Regions from separate parts of the Homo sapiens genome. Here region 2 is linked to region 1. Evidence: promoter capture Hi-C in 16 types of primary human blood cells and fetal thymus (Javierre and others, 2016). All regions are on one chromosome and are shown on one strand. The core of a region is centred on a gene start or on the middle of the fragment in contact, and the rest is flanking DNA. Distances in the headings are between cores, read along the strand shown. Region 1 holds the start of CHRNA2 (cholinergic receptor nicotinic alpha 2 subunit). Region 2 has its middle 160 kb from the start of DPYSL2.

The links. Contacts are between HindIII fragments. The CHiCAGO score rates a contact against its expected background, and 5 or more counts as called.
Region 2: a fragment that was not itself captured here is called in contact with the fragment with the promoter of CHRNA2 in region 1 in 3 of 17 cell types (M2 macrophages, erythroblasts and naive B cells); the score reaches 8.4 in M2 macrophages.

Annotation. Positions count from the first base shown.
Region 1 is chr8:27,477,355-27,481,329 of GRCh38, forward strand. It overlaps CHRNA2 (cholinergic receptor nicotinic alpha 2 subunit), which reads right to left and starts at 1,907. Exons shown (of 7, transcript NM_000742.4): 1 at 1,470-1,907. The HindIII fragment of the contact is 14,056 bases long and covers 1-3,975 here.
Region 2 is chr8:26,669,214-26,673,188 of GRCh38, forward strand. No RefSeq gene overlaps it. Among named protein-coding and RNA genes, the nearest start is that of DPYSL2, 160 kb to the left of the region's middle. The HindIII fragment of the contact is 1,155 bases long and covers 1,458-2,612 here.

The sequences.
Region 1 (3,975 bases), core at 657-3,156:
TTGCAAATTCCAAAGCTATCATCTGTTTCACCTTTTAACCAAGTGCATTTTTTAAAAAGGAGATTTTTTTTTCTCCATTAGTGAGAATAGGAATCCAAGCATGCTAACATTGCATCATTTAGAGATCCAAGGAGAGCCACCCGGGAACCCCCAGAAGAATGTGCAAATAAGATGCAGTGACTCTAGAGGATGTATTCCCAGCAAGATGCCTCAAACCTGCATCCCCTGTGATAAGCCCACTATATCATTTCATTTAATTTGTCACTGGAAACCAAAGGAGGAATTGTTCCAGGTGATTGACAGTAATTAGAGGGAACTTCCACCTCTGGTTAGGAAGATGTCAAAAAAAAAAGAGCTGCACACTTTGACCCTCTAAGTGGCTGGATTGGCAGATTTGGGGAAGGGGAGAGAGTGGGATGAGGTCCCTAATTGTAAAGTGGGTCTGGGTGAATGGGGTACACAGAGAAGCCTATGTAAAAGAGATTGCATACGTAAAGTGCTCGGACATCAGTGTCCCCACTGGGCTTGTGTCGCTGCTCACGTACACCAGTTCCAGGCCACCCCCACCCCACCCCCACACTCACTGCAGCATCTCTAGCCTGCCTGAATCCTGGTTCCGTGGAGGTCAAGGTGATTTGAGCTCACTTCCCTGTCCATGGTTCTACTAATTCTGTTTTCAACTTCTCACCCACCAGTCCACATTCTCCTCTTTTTACTAACATTTCCTTCTCCCAAAAGGCTGCTTCCATCCCACCTGGTTCCTTTCTGCTGTCCAGAACCTCCCCAAGCATACAGGTCTCAGCTTTTTCACAACTGGCAACATTACACTCCCAAAGAAGCCCCTCCATTAGAGAAACCAGTATGATTTCTTCTTCCAAATAAATGCACTCAAGGTGCTTAGGGGCTAGAGAGTGTAATTCTAGCTTTTATATCTGTTTTGCTCAATCACAGAAGTTTAACACTCAAGGTTGGGTGGGATCTTGAAGGTCATCTGAACAACCACACCAGCTGATGGAGGAATCCACTTCACAAATGCCAGCCTTGGAACAAGCCCAGCTGTAAAGAACTTGAAGAACCTTGGAAGGTATTTACCTTCTAAGTCAGTAAATAGCATTGCTGTCTTTTAGCCCTTTTAAAGGACATAGACAATTTACAGAATGAGTAAATAAATGAACAAAAGAATGGACAGCAGTAGTAAAGACATAGGAGCAGATACAGTGTAACAAAGCCACTATTCCTGAGACTGGGCTAGCCATCCTAGCCAGGAGGTGTTCATCGTCACCTGGCTGTGGACAGCTCCAGCAGGGACAACCAGGAGACTAAAATATTTCTAGGAGCAGGTGACATCCAGCATTCAGACATAACCCCCTCCTGAGTACCCAGAAACTGCTAGTATTTCTTTGACCCCATATCCACAAGCTCTCCACATGCATGCCGCCCTCAACATAAGCCTTGGGTACCTTTCTTACCTGTGGTTACAGAAGAAAACAGGTCATTGAAAGGATGCAGAGAACCAGCCTGGCTTGGAGATTCTGGGCAGCTGACAAAAGTCACCCCAGAAATAGAGTGGCAGGTACAGAATAGAGCTCAGTCACTTCATTTCATGGTCAAACAGAGGCTGAAGAGTGAGGGTTTAGGAGACACCCCGTCGAGCAGAAGACTTACATGAGAGGCATTTGGCTTCCCGGGGACAGCTGGGCAAGCTCTGCAGAGAGGTGGGTTTTCCTGGGGCTGTCCAGCTCTGGCAGCCAGAACGGCTTCATGCAGGTGCCACTGAGGACAGCCCAGGCAGCCCAGCACAAGCGATTCTGCAGGTGAAACCCAAGCCTGGCCCCAGGAGGGGATGAGGGCTCAGCACACAAGCACACAGGCTCACGCTGTTCTCTCTCTCTCTCACACACACACACACATACACACACACACACACACACACAGCCTCTCTGGAGGGGAAGGAGGAGGAGCCTGTGACTCTCCAGCCTATGTCCGGTGGGGACAGATGCAGCTCTGTCCAGTCACCACGATGCTCCCTTCCCTGCTCTCTGGACCCCTGGGCTCCAGGATCACTGCCTGGGGCCCCTGAGTGCACCCACAGGTTCTGGGTCCTGGGTCCTGGGTCTGTCTGTCAATACAGCTTCACTGTATGTGAATCCACTTCACAAATTCCAGCCTTGGAACAAGCCCAGCTGTAAAGAACTTGAAGAACCTTGGAATGTATTTACCTTCTAAGTCAGTAAATAGCATCGGAAAAATTGGAGTAAGGACAGAGCTGCCAGCCAGCCCACGGTTCTCTCCTTGCCCTCCTCCCCTGTGAGACCCCTCCCCCCACCACCCTAGAGGACCACCGGTCACTTGCGCGGCCACCCGGTGTGGCTGCTTCTCTGTCACCCCGTCAGCCTCCTTGCAGGTGACCTTGCCTTTGATTTTCCGGTGAAGCCTCCTTTTCTCTAGTATCAGATGAGTACTCCTGTCTCCTCCTGTGCATGGCGAATCCTGGCCCACTGTGATCTTGACATCACCCCATCTATTAACAGCCTGGGCTTTCTCAGATCCTCCCTCTCTGCCCCACTCGTTCCTTCCCTTCAGCCCCTAAAGAAGCTCATCCTCCACCCTAAAAACACTCTGCTTTCGGCCTTTCCCTCAAGCTACTTGCTAGCTCATCTCCCTTATTTTGTTAAAAGCAAAGGCCCTGGACATGACCCGGCCACAGACTGCTGAGGCTGAATTTCTAGCTCTGCTCTTGAACAGCTGCATAATCCTGGACAGGCCTCTTCAGCTTCCTATGCCTCAGTTTCCTCAGATGTAAAAAGAGGATGTGAACAATGGCTCCTGCCTCATAGGTTTACTATGAGGAGTCAATTAGCACAAATAAACACAAACACACACGTGCATTGTGTGTACACATGTGCATGCGATTGCTAGAATCATCTTTTGAGAGAATTAAAAGACATAAAATACCAAAAAACCATAAACACTCATATTTCCACTATTCATAATTAATAAATGTTAATATTTTACCATATTTACATATATATAAAGTTAGATGTATACATTTTTCATTTGGAGACTGAAGGAAGGAAGGAAGGGAAGGAGGGAAGAAATAAGAAAAAAGAAAAGAAAGGAAAGGAAAGGAAAGAAAAGAAAAGAAAATCACAGCTTGTATCCATCAGGATTCTTGGTTGCAAGCAATAAAAACCTACCAATTACTTTAAGTGGAGAATGGTTTTATTGAGGAACAACGGGTGGTTCACAGAAGCACCTAGAAATCTGGAGGGGCTGCTTGGAGAGCAGGGAGAAGAGGGAAGCCTCTGCCCCGCGGCCAGCATGGTGGGTCCTGCTGCTACAGAGCTGCATGTGAACCTGGCACCGTCATGGGTGCCGCTGTCACCGCTGTCCCTGGAAGCAGCCATCCCTGCTGCTGCCACCGCTGCCACAGTTAATTCTCCTCCAGCCCTGCTCCTTTGTGTCACTAGCTCTGCATACAAAGGTCGAAACAGATGCATCTGATTAAAGCATGTGCTCCCAAACCAGATGCCAGGAAGGCCAAGGAAGCAGGAATCTGGGGTTTTGAGCTTCTATGTGGAAGGTGGGCTCTGCCCACTTCAAGAGGGGGGACATTCCTGAAATATTTGAAAGTTGTTTCAATGCTGGAAAGCACCCCCCTCCCCGCCACACGAAATCTAGCTCTTTGGCTCCTAACATCAGTGCACACTCGACTTTCCATCATCACACTTTGAAAAAAAATGTTTACATCTAATTGTCCTAAAATTTTCACCCAGAATTTGTTTTAATCAGGTTTGGTAAGACATGCAGACACAGAAGTGACTGTCATAAAGGAAGGAGTTTATACTCACAGATCCCTAGAAACAGGAGGGGTGGCACATTCCCGCAGGGCCACACAGAGCAGCACCAGGGAGTGTCAGGAGGTGGAGGGCACAATGTGGGAAGCCTGGCCCCGAGCCTTTATGAGGTTTCCCC
Region 2 (3,975 bases), core at 785-3,284, 810 kb before region 1:
CTTGGGGAAAGGGACGGGGGTGGCTAGACAATGGGTGCTTGCTGGTGATTGGTTGGGTTGGAGATAAAATCAGGCAGTCAAAGCTGTCTTCTTGAGCTGAGTTACTTCTGGGTGGGGCCACAGGAGCAGTTGGCAGGTCCAGGTTGAGTCAGGGTGTCAGACATACAAAATACCTGAAAAGACATCTTAAAAGGCCTTTCTACAATAGTGATGTTATTTGCAGGAGTAATTGGGGAAGTTACATATCTTATGACCTCTGGAATAGTGACTGGCAATCCTTTATGTCTACACCTTAGCAGAATTCAGGCTCCTCTCTTCCTCCTAGCCCTGTGGTCTCTCATTAGCTTTACATAGGTGGCTGAGTTCTAGGGAAGGGCTATTATCATTTAAACTATAAACTAAATGTCTCCCAAAGTTAGCTTGGCAGCTTGAAGGCCAAAGGCAAGAGGGGGGCTGGCTAGATCAGATTTCCCTCATTGGCACAGTTTTATCACTGATACGATTTTTGCAAAGGCGGTTTCATCTTCAGATTAATTACAAAATTATGTACAAGGTCCAAGTGTCCCCCCACTAGATGATGATCTTAACACTTTCATCTTATGAAAAATGGGGAATAGATTCCCAAAGTGTTGCACTTATCTACGCCAGGCTCCATGGATTCTAGCTGCATTTGAGGGCTCCCTGGCTCATGGCCTCAGCTCCTGACTCAATTGTCCTCAGTGTTTCATTGATAAATTCATAAATTTGAGACTGTCTCAAAAAAATTCTGATAAGTGTTGTGATAAGCTATAAACCATAGATACATAATTAGGAGGATGCAGCTAACTGTGGGGATGAAAAAGACTTCCCAAAGAGTTCTCAAGCCTTCGTGAAATTGAATAAAGACAAAAACAGGGAAGTCTGAAACTGCAGCACGATGACCCACAGGCCCGTTCCATATGTGTCTTGGGCCTAGTTCATCTCCAAGGGCACTGATCTGGTCCTTGAACGTCAGCTTTTTATGTAAACTGTTTGAGGACCAAGGTGTGTGTGGACCTGCTGTTCATTCCCTGATGAGCTGATAGTGATAGTGCGTTCTATCAGTTTTTAGTGGCTTATTTGCACATCTGATCTTATTGAAATGTTATAAAGTTCATGGAGGGCTACTCCATTGGGATTATTATTGCTCTTTCTCTCCCTCATTCCTTGTTCTCCATCTTCCCCTCCACGCCCCACCCTGCCATGAGGGTTCCAGCCATTCCCAAATGAGTATTCTGTCCTTCAGGTCCTTATTTAGAAAAACAGTCATTGGCCTGGTTGCCTTTCAATATTTAATTCTACTTTCATAAGTGGAAATAAAGCCTGCTCTTGCCCCTTTCCTCCTAGATGACAGTAGTTAGGATAATATGGTGACCTAATTAATGGTAGTCTTGGTTGACAAAGTATTTGTCAGGTAATTTGGAATGACAGCTGTGGAAAGCTTACCTCTGGCGGCTTAGCTTAGTTTGTCCAGTAGGTGGCAGTAGTGTACAAGCTGTGCGAGAGCAAGTTCTCAAGAAGACAAAATGCAACTTCCGTTCCTAAGCAAGAAAAGGACAGAATGCAGTATCTGTTCCTAAGCAAGCACCCAGCCAGCTGTATCTGGATGTGGACCTGCATTCGGTCCATGAGGAGACCAACAGGTGACTCTGAGTTTAGAAAGCTACGTATTAAACATAATGGTGTGTAGATTTAGCAAGAGACACTAAAAAAGTTGATTATTAGGGGCCAAAATCTCAGATCCCCTTATTAAGTAAATTGGTTTTCCTGATAGAGGCGCCCTGTGTTCAGATAGCGTTTGTGTGGCAGAGCTGACTGCAAGGAGACAAAGGCTTGCTGGGGCTTTCATAGGATGGTACTGTGCTGGAGTGGGCTATGTACACTACGATCACGCCGAGGCTGCAGGGAGCGAGCTTGCAGGTGTCTGGTGGTATAAGTCGGGCGCAGGAAGATTGTGAGTTATTTACACAGGAGGGCTGTGTGTCCTGGACCATGAAGAAAGGCAGACTTGTAGCTTGTTTGCTTCTTTTTGCTTTCCCCTGCTCCCACCAGCCTGACTTTTTCCCTAATGAGGACTTCACAGTTTGCAGCGTTGTCAAATTAGCTAACCAGATGCAATAGGAGTCAGGCTTTCATTCCCTCTTGCAGCCTGTTTCGGTGCTTCATGTTAAAATCCTGTAGTTACTCTCTCTCTCTTTCTTTCTCTCCCTTTCTCTCTCTCTCTGTCAACAGAGGCACTGTAAATTACCAGTGACTGGTCAAATTTGTGACCATTCTTTATCTCCTTCCCTCCTGTCCCTGAATTTGGCTCTCGTACCCAAGCCTGGCTTTCGTATCACACTGGATGTATGGGGAATGAGGCTCAGCACTGTCACTGCATTTGTGTTATTTCATCTGATCAGTGTTGTGATGAACTATAAACCACAAGGACTCAAGGGATCCCCCTGCCTCAGCCTCCTGAGTAGCTGGGATTACAGGTATTATGATACCCGAAATAGGTAATATATTAGCTGCCTATATACTATTCATGCTGATTCATTTATCTGTACTAATTAAGACTTAGCACCTTAGGTGAATGGAACATAGACCAAACAAGCTTTTTAAAATAACGATTTAAAACAAAAGAAAAGTAATGTATGTTAAATGTAAGAACATATTTAAAAAGTAAAGTATCAGCATAATATTGGCTTCCTATAATGATTTGGGATGTGTTCTTTCTTTTTTAATTTAATGCAAGAATGTATTCAATGTATTATTTCCTCCTTAACTGCTTGACTGGTTGAATTGACCATTGAAACCATTTGGACCTAGAGTTCTCTCTGTGGGAATGTTTTTAAACTACAAATTCAATTTCTTTAATAGGCATAGGGCTATTTAGTTTATCTGTTTCTTCTTGAGTAAGCTTTGGTAGTTTGTGTCTTCCATGGAATTTGTCCATTTCGTCTGAGTTGTTGAATTTATTGGCATAGAATTGTTAATCATATTTCCTTATTATCTTCTTAATATTAATAGAATTTTCAGTGATGTCATCCTCTCTTTCCCAATGTTAGTAATTTGCATCATCTCCCTTTTTCTCCTTATCACAATGGTTAGTTTATCAATTTCATTGATCTGAAAAAACTAGCTAATAGTTTAGTTGATTTTCTCTATTGTTTTACTGTTTTGCATTTAATTGATACTTCACTCTGATTTTCATAATTTCTTTTCTTCTATTTAGGACGAATTTAATTTGCTCTCCTTTTTCTAGTTTTCTGAAGTGGAATCTGATGTATTTTTTCTTTTCCAATGAAGGCATTTAGTGCTATAAGTTTCACTGAAGTTACCGTATTCATTTTCTTTTTACCCATGAGTTATTGAGGAATATGCTATTAAGCTTCGAAGTATTTGGGAATGATCCAGAGATTTTTCTGTTACTGACTTCTAACTTAAAGTCATTGTAGTTAGAGAACTTACATGGTGTGAACTTAAATAACCTTAAATTTATGGAGACATATTTTATGAGCCTAAATATGATCCATCTTGAAAAATGTTCCAAATGCACTTGAGAAAAATGAGTATTCTGCTGAGAGGGAATGGAGGGTTCTATAAATGTCGGTAGGCCAAGTTGGTTGATGGAGTTCTTGAAATATCCTAATGTCCACAGTGATTATTCATCTACTTGTTATATCAAGCCATACCAGCCTATTAGCTGAGAATGACTGGATCTGAAATTTTAGGACAGTGTCAAAGTGGAGCCAGCAGCATCATTATTTGGTTTTCCACATTGTTGGGAGACCATCCCTGTAACATATTCCAAAGCAAATTTCTATAAAATGCCAGTCTGGGGAGATGCTCTGTGGAAACAATGTGATATAGGTCAAATGGGTATGAAGCACTTGGGGAGTTAGAATACATATATGAAATCTTGTTTAATTTGGTTAATTATTTCTCAAATTTATTTTATCATAGCATCATTTT